2 separate regions of the Homo sapiens genome follow, and region 2 is linked to region 1. The links are contacts of gene promoters, found by promoter capture Hi-C in human tissues and cell types (Jung and others, 2019). All regions are on one chromosome and are shown on one strand. The core of a region is centred on a gene start or on the middle of the fragment in contact, and the rest is flanking DNA. Distances in the headings are between cores, read along the strand shown.

The links. The method cuts DNA at HindIII sites, captures the fragments that hold promoters and counts their contacts. A contact is called where the count stands out against the background at its distance.
Region 2: a contact is called between a fragment that was not itself captured here and the fragment with the promoter of CHST2 in region 1, in 1 of the 25 tissues and cell types used here (dorsolateral prefrontal cortex).

Annotation. Positions count from the first base shown.
Region 1 is chr3:143,115,887-143,121,020 of GRCh38, reverse strand. It overlaps CHST2 (carbohydrate sulfotransferase 2), which reads right to left and starts at 1,250. Exons shown (of 2, transcript NM_004267.5): 1 at 480-1,250; 2 at 1-377. The coding sequence starts at 204. RefSeq lists silencers at 1-67, 128-327, 388-467, 518-567, 598-647 and 1 more and enhancers at 1-534, 858-907, 1,193-1,692, 1,888-2,017, 1,693-2,194. The HindIII fragment of the contact is 8,898 bases long and covers 1-5,134 here.
Region 2 is chr3:143,746,654-143,752,362 of GRCh38, reverse strand. All of the region lies in intron 4 of SLC9A9 (solute carrier family 9 member A9), which reads left to right. Among named protein-coding and RNA genes, the nearest start is that of SLC9A9, 99 kb to the left of the region's middle. RefSeq lists enhancers at 178-297, 358-707. The HindIII fragment of the contact is 3,672 bases long and covers 1,709-5,380 here.

The DNA of each region.
Region 1 (5,134 bases), core at 1-2,500:
GAGCACCAGCAGCAGTGCATAGCCCGCGCACAACACCAGCGCCTTCCTACGGAACACCTTCATTCCGAGAGGGGACGCGGGCCAGCGGCGTCCTGGGCGCCGGGGCCACTGCGGGAGCAGGGCACGCGGCGCGGCTGCAGGCGCAGCCTGGAGCAGCCGAGGGAGCGCGCCCGGGGGCAGAGCTCGCTGCGGGCTGCGGCTCATCACAGGCACAATCCGGGCCGGCGGCGCGGCGGAGGCAGCCCTGCAGCCCGGGAAGGGGACGCAGCGGGCTGGCTGCTGGCGCCGGGACTCGGGCCGCGACTCCGAGGCGGGCGCGGCGGCTGGTCCCCAGCGCCCAAGGCTGGCTCTCCCATGGCAGCGGCTCCGGGTAGGACCTGCGAGGGGAAGCGGAGTGAGCGGATGCGCCCCAATCTCCCTCCCAGCCTCCTCCTCCTAAGTAACGCCCACCCTCGGTTCTGCCCGGTTCCTCCGCTCACCTGGAGCCGAGGGCGCGCCCGGGAGCGGCCCCGGATCACCGCCCGGCGGACTGTCCGGCTGTCACTCGTTCCTCGATTTCGCTCCCTCTCGCTTCCGCTGGGGGTCCCCGCACCTTCGAGGGGTCTGGGGAGTCGGCCGACTTATCCCTGGGCAGTTTCCGGGCAGCGGGCGCCCTGCGGCTCGGGAAGAAAAACTTTCACGCGGCCCAGAGCCCCGCTCCGCGCTCCGCCGAACCCGGCGCCTCCCGGCTCCAGCGACGTCTCCTCCGCTTTCTCGGGACCGCAGCTTCCTGTCTCGCTCAGGGGAACGAAGCCGGCTGGGGGCGATGGCTGGGGGCGGCTTATATGGGACTCAGCTCCCGGCATAGCGGCGCAGCCCCTCTCGCTTTCGGCCTCCGTGCGGCGAATTTTCCCACCTCTCTGGCAGCGGTGGATGGGGCACAGCGCGACCCCGCAGCGGCGGCGGCGGCTGCTTCCATCACCGGGAGGATGCCCGGGCGGACAGCGCAGGCAACCCCCGCCGCTCCGCAGCCTCCGACTGGACCAAAGGACCCCGAACACACAGCTCTAGGCAAGGAAACCCAGGTGTGCAGCACTGCCCGACCCGACCCAACCCGCCCCCGGTACCAGCGCTTCTGGCCAACGAGGTATTTAAGCAAAGAAAGACCCCGCCGCAGCCGCCGCCGCCGCGCGAAAGCGGCGCCCAGGAGGATGCTGCTACCCGACTCCCCTTACGCCGGGCGCCCGCAACGCGCTCGGACCAGCCTCTGCGCGGCTCCTGCCAGCCGGCGCCCGGTTGGTGCGCGCCGCCGTCTGTCGCCGCGGCTCCTCCCCTCCGCCGCGCAGCCCTCCCCCTTCGCCGGCCCCGCCCCCGCCCCCAACGCCGAGCCGGCTCCCACCGTCGCTGCGCCTCGGGGGCTGGAGACGCGACCCGCTTTACCGCGACGCGCGGGGGCTGCAGTCCACGGGTCCGAAGGCTTAGCTCTGCGCGCAAAGCGCCGGGATGCGAACGCGGGATCTGGAGCTCGTCGGTGCCGAGAGCTGCCAGAGAGTTGGATTCTGCGTGCAGCTGCCGGACTCGGCCCCATGTTTTTGCTCTCAGAAAGAGTTGGTGATGAAGTTTGGGCAGAAATCCCCTGTCGGCCGTCCGCTCCACGCTTCCCTCGGGGCCGACACTGCCAACCTCTCCGGGCACTGAGGACACCTCTGCGCCCTGGAGCGGTGGGAGGACGCGGAGCGCCGTTCTCTGGCTTCCGACACCCTGCCCGCCCTCTCTAGTGGGTCTGTGGCTGCGCCCTCTCGAAGGAAGTAATAAATCTTTCTGACCTTGGGGGTCAGAGGAGACGCTTCAGTTTTCCGGAGGGGTGTGCGGGCGGGACCGTCTTTCCGCTTTACTGGACCTCTGGCCGGGGCTGCTCTTGTTTCATTGTGCCCCACATGCGGAGCCCCGATGCTCTCCGCATTTCCGCTCGCGGTGCTGCGTCCACTGTGATTGACGTCCTCTGGAATTGGGGTGATGGGGGAGGGGAACGCCCCGTTCTAATTTGCAGAAAAATACTTGTCCCGCTTCTTGGTTTTGTAGATGAGATCAAAGAACTTGACCCCAAAGGAAACACCGTTGTTGAAAGAAAATCATTTTTCAGTTGCTTTAGGTTTAAGTACTTTTGTTTAAGGTTATGAGGAAAAGCGTCTCTCTCTCCCCCCAACTCCCTCCCTCCCCAAGAACACTAAGCTGTAGCCTCAACTTCATCTGTAGAATGGGGACAGTTGTAACAGCCTCCGGAGACTGAACGGTGGTTGAGTATCAGAGCGCGCACACGAAAGGTTAGACCTGAGTTCAGGCCTCCAAGTGCCGAAAAGGGAATCTCCGTGGGGCCTGAGGCTCAGCACCCTCGGATAAACAGAGCTCTCGCTGATCCGGAGTTTTGTTGCCTCCTGTCCCAGTAGAGTTTTTAGAAGTTACTGCACAATTATCTTTGTAGCGTTTCGGGCAGACTTTTCAGAGGACCGTTCTAACATTAAAATATTGCTGTTTGCGCCATTATTCTTCCATGAGTCTTACAGAATCCCCTGAGTACAAAGACTTGAAAAGTGACTTAACTCGCTTTCCACGGGTTTTTAACTCTCTTACGGATTTAGTTTCAGGGGAGAAAAATGTTCAAAAAACTTATTTATCCTTGTTTTCCAGAAAAACCCATAATGTCACGAGTACAGTTCAGCTTATTTTTTCTCCTGGGGAGGGGGATTGGGACAAGGACAGCAGAGCTCAAATTTTATATCCAGCTTTCTCAAATAATATGGCATTGCCTCTGGAAGTGGGTCGAGACAGGCAAGAATCCCTGTTAACAGATGAAGGTGGTAGAGTTTAATTGAGCGACTCCCCATCTTTTCCTTTTCTGGAATCCCCAGCCTCCCTTCGCCTACTCTCTCAAATGCCCCTGCCCCTTTTTCACCACCTCTTTTACCACGAAAACTAAAATGACATTGGTGCATGAAAAGACTGATGGGAGAGAGAGGGAATTGGGGAGGAAAGTAAATCTCAATTTTAATATTCAACATGATTCCAAGAAAAATAATTTCTAATATTTTTCATTTAGTTTCTGGCTTTGTGCTTACCCAGAAAAAAACTGAATTGCATTAGTCGATGTAGGGACCCTTTTTAAAAACAATTGTTTGCATAGAAATAATTCCGTTTGCAATTTTGTAACACTTTACTGGTGTTGGCAAAATAGTAAATCCATTTGCCAGGTGCCCCCACAGTGCTCAGCTGGCATAAATTTACGGGTTCTGGCATCTCCACCCTCTCCTTGCTTGCAAATTTTTCCCATTTTGCATGGTGTCATGATTAATTCTGAACTTTGTTATAGCTAATGACATCTGAAAACTTCATAATGCCTTCCTTCCCGCATTTGTTTGGAAATTCCTTTCATTTTAATCTACTTATTTTAGCATAGTAATGACCCAGACATATAATATGTCACATAATAATGTCACTTGCACAAGAGCCAGTCATGCCACAGGGCTAGCCTTAATTTCGGCTCACTGGTTTAGTTTGTCACAATTCCATCTCCCCCAGGATGCTCTTTCAGTCTCTGTCTTCTCTGCTGCCTGTTATGTTCTATTGGAAACTGTCAGGCCTCTGAGCCAAAGCTAAGCCATCATATCCCCTGTGACCTGCATGTACACATCCAGATGGCTGGTCCTTGCCTTAACTGATGACATTCCACTACAAAAGAAGTGAAAATGGCAGGTCCTGCCTTAACTGATGACATTACCTTGTGAAATTCCTTCTCCTGGCTCATCCTGGCTCAAAAAGCTCCCCCACTGAGCACCTTGTGATCCCCCCCTCCACACCTGCCCACCAGAGAACAACCCCCTTTGACTGTAATTTTCCTTTACCTGCCCAAATCCTATAAAACGGCCCCACGCCTATCTCCCTTCACTGACTCTCTTTTCGGACTCAGCCCGCCTGCACCCAGGTGATTAAAAAGCTTTATTGCTCACACAAAGCCTGTTTGGTGGTCTCTTCACACTGATGCGAGTGAAAGAAACTTGCTGTGGCTTTTGCTTAATCCTGGACAAATGTCCAGAGATCTTCAAGGACTTTCTTCCAGAGTCTGAACTGGGGAAAGATGCAAGGCTGGGTTACCTGAACAGTTCCCATTTGGGCCTATCTGTGTGAATCCTAGAAGATTCACCTTTGGAAAATGTTTGCCCCTGGGCACCAAGATAGATTCACTCCCTCATATTTTGAACAAATATGCATTTTCAATAGAACTTGAGATTATAGATTCAGGTTACTCATAATCCTTGATTTAAGATATGCTGCCATTGTTAGTCCAAGTGGCCCTTTTAAATGTCCTATGTTTTAATATAATGAATATGCATGAACCCATTACACAGCCCAAAAACCTCCAAGAGTAACCGCTCTACTTAGTTTAGAAACTGAGATGAAATGATAAAGTTCTAACAGGAAGGAAAAACAACTTGCTTTAACAATCTCAAAAAGATACAAGACTACTTATGGCCGGGCACGGTGGCTCATGCCTGTAATCCCAACACTTTGGGAGGCTGAGGTGGGCATATCACTTGAGCCTAGGAGCTTGAGACCAACCTGGGCAACATGGCAAAACCCCATCTCTACAAAAACTACAAAAAAATTAGCCAAGTGTGGCAGTGCATGCCTGTAGTCCCAGCAACTCGGGAGACTGAGATGGGAGAATTACCTGACCCCAGGAGGTCAAGGCTGCAGTGAGCCATAATGGTGCCACTGCACTCCAACCTGGGCAACAGAGTGAGACCCAGTCTCAAAAAAAAAAAAAAGAAAAAGAGGTTGGGCACGGTGGCTCACACCTGTAATCCCAGCACTTTGGGAGGCCGAGTTGGGCAGATCACCCGAGGTCAGGAGTTTGAGACCAGGCTGAAACCCCGTCTCTGCTAAAAATACAAAAATTAGCCTGGTTTGGTGGTGCGCACCTGTAGTCCCAGCTACTCGGGAGGCTGAGGCAGGAGAATTGCTTGAACCCGGGAGGCAGAGGTTGCAGTGAGCCAAGATCGCGCCACTGCACTCCAGCCTGGGCAACAGAATGAGACTCTGTCTCAAAAAAAAAGAAAAGGAAGGAAAAGAAAGAAAAAGAAGAAAAACAGTACTTACA
Region 2 (5,709 bases), core at 2,295-4,794, 630 kb before region 1:
GGAGACTTACTAGGCTGCCTGTGGCTAATACGATAAAAAAGAGAATTCAAAACAGGTGGAATGGGGGCCAGATGTTTCTAGAAGCCTGTGAATAGTTTGTTTCCATATCACCAGAGATAAAGGTGGACTGCTGTTCTCTCTGCTAATGAGAGAGATCTCTGGAATCTCATTTTCTTTCCACATAAGGATGGGGTGGTGTGCACTCTGCTGCTGCAGCTGAGGAGATTTCTGAGAACTCTGTGGTTTATTTTAAAATCTCTCAACATCACTTTGAAGTAAGTCTACTTTGAAGTAACTCTGAACCTGTTTCTGAAGAGTTTGATGTGTGTCTGAAAGGCGATTTCAGTAGTCCTCTCCTCCCAGCCCTGGTTCTTCCCTCTCCCCAGCTGCCATGTTGGCCTGAACAGGTTTTCTTACAGTCAGCCTCACTGAGGATGCCCCAGGCCCTGGCCCAGAATCACACTCCACTCAACGCAGTGCTGAGGAGAAAGGCAAACATTGCCTATTTCATTTGAGTCTTCGCTGTGGTCTGCTTCTCCCTGTACCCCCAGCTGCTTTCTTTCACTTCCTTTCAGCATTTGCCTGTTGATGCCATGTCTGCCCGATCTTGAGTAGTGTCATACTATTTACTTCCTGTCATCCCTCTCACAGATAGGCTCCCTTGGAAGCCAACCCTGAAGCAGAGGTTCTTGTGCACAGATTAGGGAGTGCTTTTGGGATCAGACCTGTGGAAAGAAGCGGTGGGAGGTAGGAGGGTGCAGAGGAAGTTGAACTACAATGCAGCCCCTCACCAAAGCCCCAGCTGACCCCAAGGAGTGGGGACTCTGGAGTCAGGATGGCCCTTCAGAGCTGTCTAAACTGGCACAGGAGACCAGGTCTTCATATGTTTATAGCATCGGATGTCTCTGGAAAGCAGCATGCCCTCCAGGAAAGATAGCTTCCTTCAACCAAGGAAATCCCCATAGGGAGCTCAGAGCTAAGGGCCCTCTTTGCCGCAGTGGGGGGAATAAATTCTACATCTTCAAAGGGAGATGAAGGCTAGGCATCATATCATCCACCACCAACAATTAGGTGGATCTGCAGGTAACCTCCTCCTGGTGGTTTTAAGGTGAGATACTTAGAGAAGGTGATGCCTTCAGAGAGTCTGCAACCTTTTCTCCACACAGCATGAGCCTGTTTAGACAGCAGCAAGAGCTGCACTCTTGACTCGCCCTGCAATATCAAACTATGGTCCCAGTTAGCCTGGCTTCCAAAACAGAACTGCCCATGAACAATGACTTCCTATCTCCTTGAAGCAGCATCTGATGTGCATCTTCTCCAGCAGCCCTGAAAACTGGTTCTGCCAGCTGGAGAGGGGAGAGCCAGCATTTAGACTCAACAGGAAGCTTGGATTTCAACAGAGAAAAAATACATAAATATTTATCTAATCACATAATTAAAGGAAATCTACTGCCCCATACAGTTGCAATCTAAATAACCCACTTCATTAAAATGCAGATGTTCTTGCGAAATTCTTTAAAATTTTTTCAAAAGGTTCTTTCCTCCATGGGTTTGTTTTTTAAAAGAAGAGACAAATATTTGTTATAAATATATAAGATATATAATTATATATGTATATATATATATATAGATATATATTTAACAGCATTTTGTTTTTACTCTGTACCCTCTTCCCATTTGACTATACAATATTATCAGTTATTAGTACTCAACAAGGATATTACCAAATGACATCATAAAACATTTTCATCTTTCACCATTACAGGACAGCAGGCAGATTTGTCTACACAGGTGAGGGAAATGGAGAGCTGAATTATTCAGTGAATTTGATTAATGTTTATGTCAGAGCAGGAACAAATGTATCAGTAATGGGAAGTTCAATTAGTGCTTTAATTAATTAGGTTCCTGTTTTTAGCTCTATTGTGAAAGATAATTATTTGTTAGCTTTGCTTAGGACCTGGGCTAAGGCCTTGATTACAGGTATTAAAAAATATAATGCAAGAGAATTGGGGCTCTGAAGAAACTTAAAGCTTGTGACAATAGAAAATGCCAGTGAAAATTCAAGCACATTGTCATTTACTGGAGTCATTAAAGCCTCCACTGAAAGTTAGAACAAAGTTCAAAATAAATGATTTTAACTGAAGTTAGAATTGTAAGGCCCTTTTGGTGCATTGTCTTCCTCTTCCACGGGAATTTAGGGCCACTTTTAACTGCTGTATCAAGACAATACGGCATTATGCATTTAACCAGGAAGCTGACTTTAGAGTCTCTTTCTCTCTGTCTCTTTCTCTGTGTCTGCCCGGAGCTTTTATTTTTACAATGATAAACCTATTCGCAAATAAGGATCATGGAGGCTTAATCTTATAACAAAAAATGGAGTAGTATCTGCAGGAGAGCCTGCGTAATTTAGATTTCTCCCCCTACTCACTGGTAGAGTTTAATCATATCCGAAAGGCACAGTGATTTAAGTGCCTGAGCATCTGCATATAGACTTTCCTTTTGTTCCTGATTTTAGTCTAGCCCGCAGTTCTCAAACTTCAGTGTGTACAAAGATTTCCATATAGGAATATACTCTTGAAACCGGGATAACTGTACCTCATGGACCAATTAAGAGAATTTCAAGGGCAATTTAAACTCTCTGAGAATTGTAAGAAGCAGAACAACTATTGAACCACTTCGTCCTGGAAATCAACTAAAGATGAAATCTTTTATCCCAAGTAACCATTCTCCGCAACTCTAGCGTTAACATATGACAAAACGATGTGGTACTGATGGAGTACTGAAGTTTATGAATGACTTGCTTTTTAATTTTGTATTTAAAAAGCATTCAGCGTTAGTCCTTATAAAGTGGAATGCGTAATCTTTGGCATCTGGGGATGCTTTGCTGAGTGGGAGCGAGGGAATTTCAACCAAGTATCCAGACATGGAATTTTTAGCTTAGCTGTTCGATGCTGTGGCCTTTTCCAGTGGGTTGTGGCTCTTAGACTATTGTTGTGTTTTTGATTTTACAGCTAATTTTCTTCTTAATGTTAACCATGGATACATTTTTCTAAAGGGAGGAAAACAGGAGTAGAGAAAGAAAACATCTAGATCATGTATGATAAAGAATGATACTGTAGCTATTTTTGTTCTTAACAACACAATAGCAATGCTCCAAATAAGGCAAAGAGATGTGAGAAGCATTTATAAATAATAATTTAAAATATTATGCAAATATATAAACCATGTGTTTATAATGTTTCAAACATGCTTTAAATTTTCTTCACTAGTCTATATTTGCACCTTTATTAGTATTATTCATGAAGCAAAATTAAGGTCTAGAAAAAAAAAGACTTGAAGTTCAGTTAAAAAGCTTGGTCAGGCCGGGCGCGGTGGCTCACGCCTGTAATCCCAGCACTTTGGGAGGCCGAGGCGGGTGGATCATGAAGTCAGGAGATCGAGACCATCCTGGCTAACAAGGTGAAACCCCGTCTCTACTAAAAATACAAAAAATTAGCCGGGCGCGGTGGCGGGCGCCTGTAGTCCCAGCTACTCGGGAGGCTGAGGCAGGAGAATGGCGTGAACCCAGGAAGCGGAGCTTGCAGTGAGCCGAGATTGCGCCACTGCAGTCCGCAGTCCGGCCTGGGCGACAGAGCGAGACTCCGTCTCAAAAAAAAAAAAAAAAAAAAAAGCTTGGTCAAAAAGAGACTCTTTGCCAGTCCGTCCTCTGTTCAAAGAAAGAAGAGATGACATTCTTCTTTCCTTTGAACATTGTAAGTCCATTTTCTCATTCAGTTACCTTTTGTTCATGAAGGGTCAGCTGAACCATTTGGTAGTAGAGGATATTTGCTGGATGGTCAGAGCAGCAGCCAGACATTTAGTGAGGGGAATTTTCATGAAAAGAAAAAGAAAACCAAATATTAATAGTTGGAAACCCAGTTTCCAAATCCAGAGGGCAGCCAGTTGAGGTCCAGACATTGGGCTTGAAGCATCTTAATGAGGACAGTTGTGGCAGGCTGACAGATTTACTGGGTTGCAATTTGAATGTCTTTGGTGATGGCATCAGTTTTGCTGGCTTGGCTGAGCCCAGACCTAGCCACAAGGCTCTTATATTTGTGGGGTCCCGGATAAGAGCACAAACAGAGCCCGCATATCATGGGCCTGAATATCTAAAGTTCTACGGCAAGTCACCAGACAGCTAAAGAAACATGTTCTATACATCTGTCTTGACAAATATGTGTTCATAATGATCAAGAAGGCTAGTTCAATTTGGAATTCTTGAAACTAAGTTCAGTGTCAACTAACTTAGAGGCAGTGGGATTGAGATGCCCTGATCTCTAGCTGCTAATCCACTCTGGCTCAATCGCAGACTTAGGAAAGGGGTTCGTGGAGACACAGGGGCAGTCTTGGGACCATCAGGGCAGATTTCAGTGTCTCAGGTGCCTGGAGTGTGGCCTAGATGGGAGCGCTCCCTACCCTGAGGGGAAAGGACCACTGGACAAAGTTCCTAAGGAGGTCTATAATGTATACAGCATGATTGTATTCATTTCTTATAGCTGCTGTAACAAATTACTACAAATGTGGAAGTTTAAAACAATCGAAATATATGATTTTCCAGTTCTGGAGGCCAAAGTCAGTATCACCAAACCAAGGTATCAGCAGGGCTTCTTTTTTCCCAGAGGCTGTTGGAGAAAACTTGTTCTTGTTTTCTTCTTCCAGCTTCTGGCAGCCGCTGGCATTCCTCATGTTATGACTGCATTACTCTAGTCTTCAAAGCCAACATCCTTAAATCCCTCTTTGCTTCACCTTCATATCCCCCACTCTGTGGGTGTATTCAAGTCTCTCTCTGCCTGTACATCATAAGGATAGAAGTGATTGCATTTAGGGTCCACCTGAATAATTCAGGGTCATCTCCTTATCTCAAGATTTTTCACCTAATCACATCTGCAAAGTCCCTCTTTTTTTTTTTTTTTTTTTTTGAGATGGAGTTTCACTCTTGTTGCCCAGGCTGGGGGGCAGAGGTGCAACCTCAGCTCACTGCAACCCCCACCTTCCAGTAGCAAGCAATTCTCCTGCCTCAGCCTCCCAAGTAGCTGGGATTACAGGCACCTGCCACCACACCCAGGTGGTTTTTGTATTTTTAGTAGAGACGGGGTTTCACCATGTTGGCCAGGCTGGTCTCAAACTCCTGACCTCATGATCCGCCCACCTCAGCCTCCCAAAGTGCTGGGATTGCAGGCGTGAGCCACCCTGCCTGGCCTGCACAGTCCCTCATTTTATATAAGGTAACATTTATGGGTTCCAGGGATTAGGACCTCATATCTTTGTGGGCCCATTGTTCAGCGTACCACAGCATTGTCATTGTCTGATGATTTAAATTACGGCATTTGAGGGGGAAAAAAGGCTTAAAAATATGTCGCGTTTGAAGGAAAAAACAATTAAACTCATTACCTGGTTTAATATGAAGAGAGAAATATCTTCATCTTGGACATCATAAAGAATACCATCAGTGATGAGAAAAAAGTTTTTATTTTGTCACCTTTTTCTATGTTTAAGGAGGAAAGCTGATAGCAAATGACTGAGAAAGCAAGACATTTTAGCCAAATATTTTTCTAATTTTGTTTATATTAATCAATGCTGTTTTTATCTTTGATAGGCAGGCAGCAAACCACACCACCCTGAAAAGAAATTATTTGAGCACTTTAAAAAAAAAGGTAAATGTATTCAAAT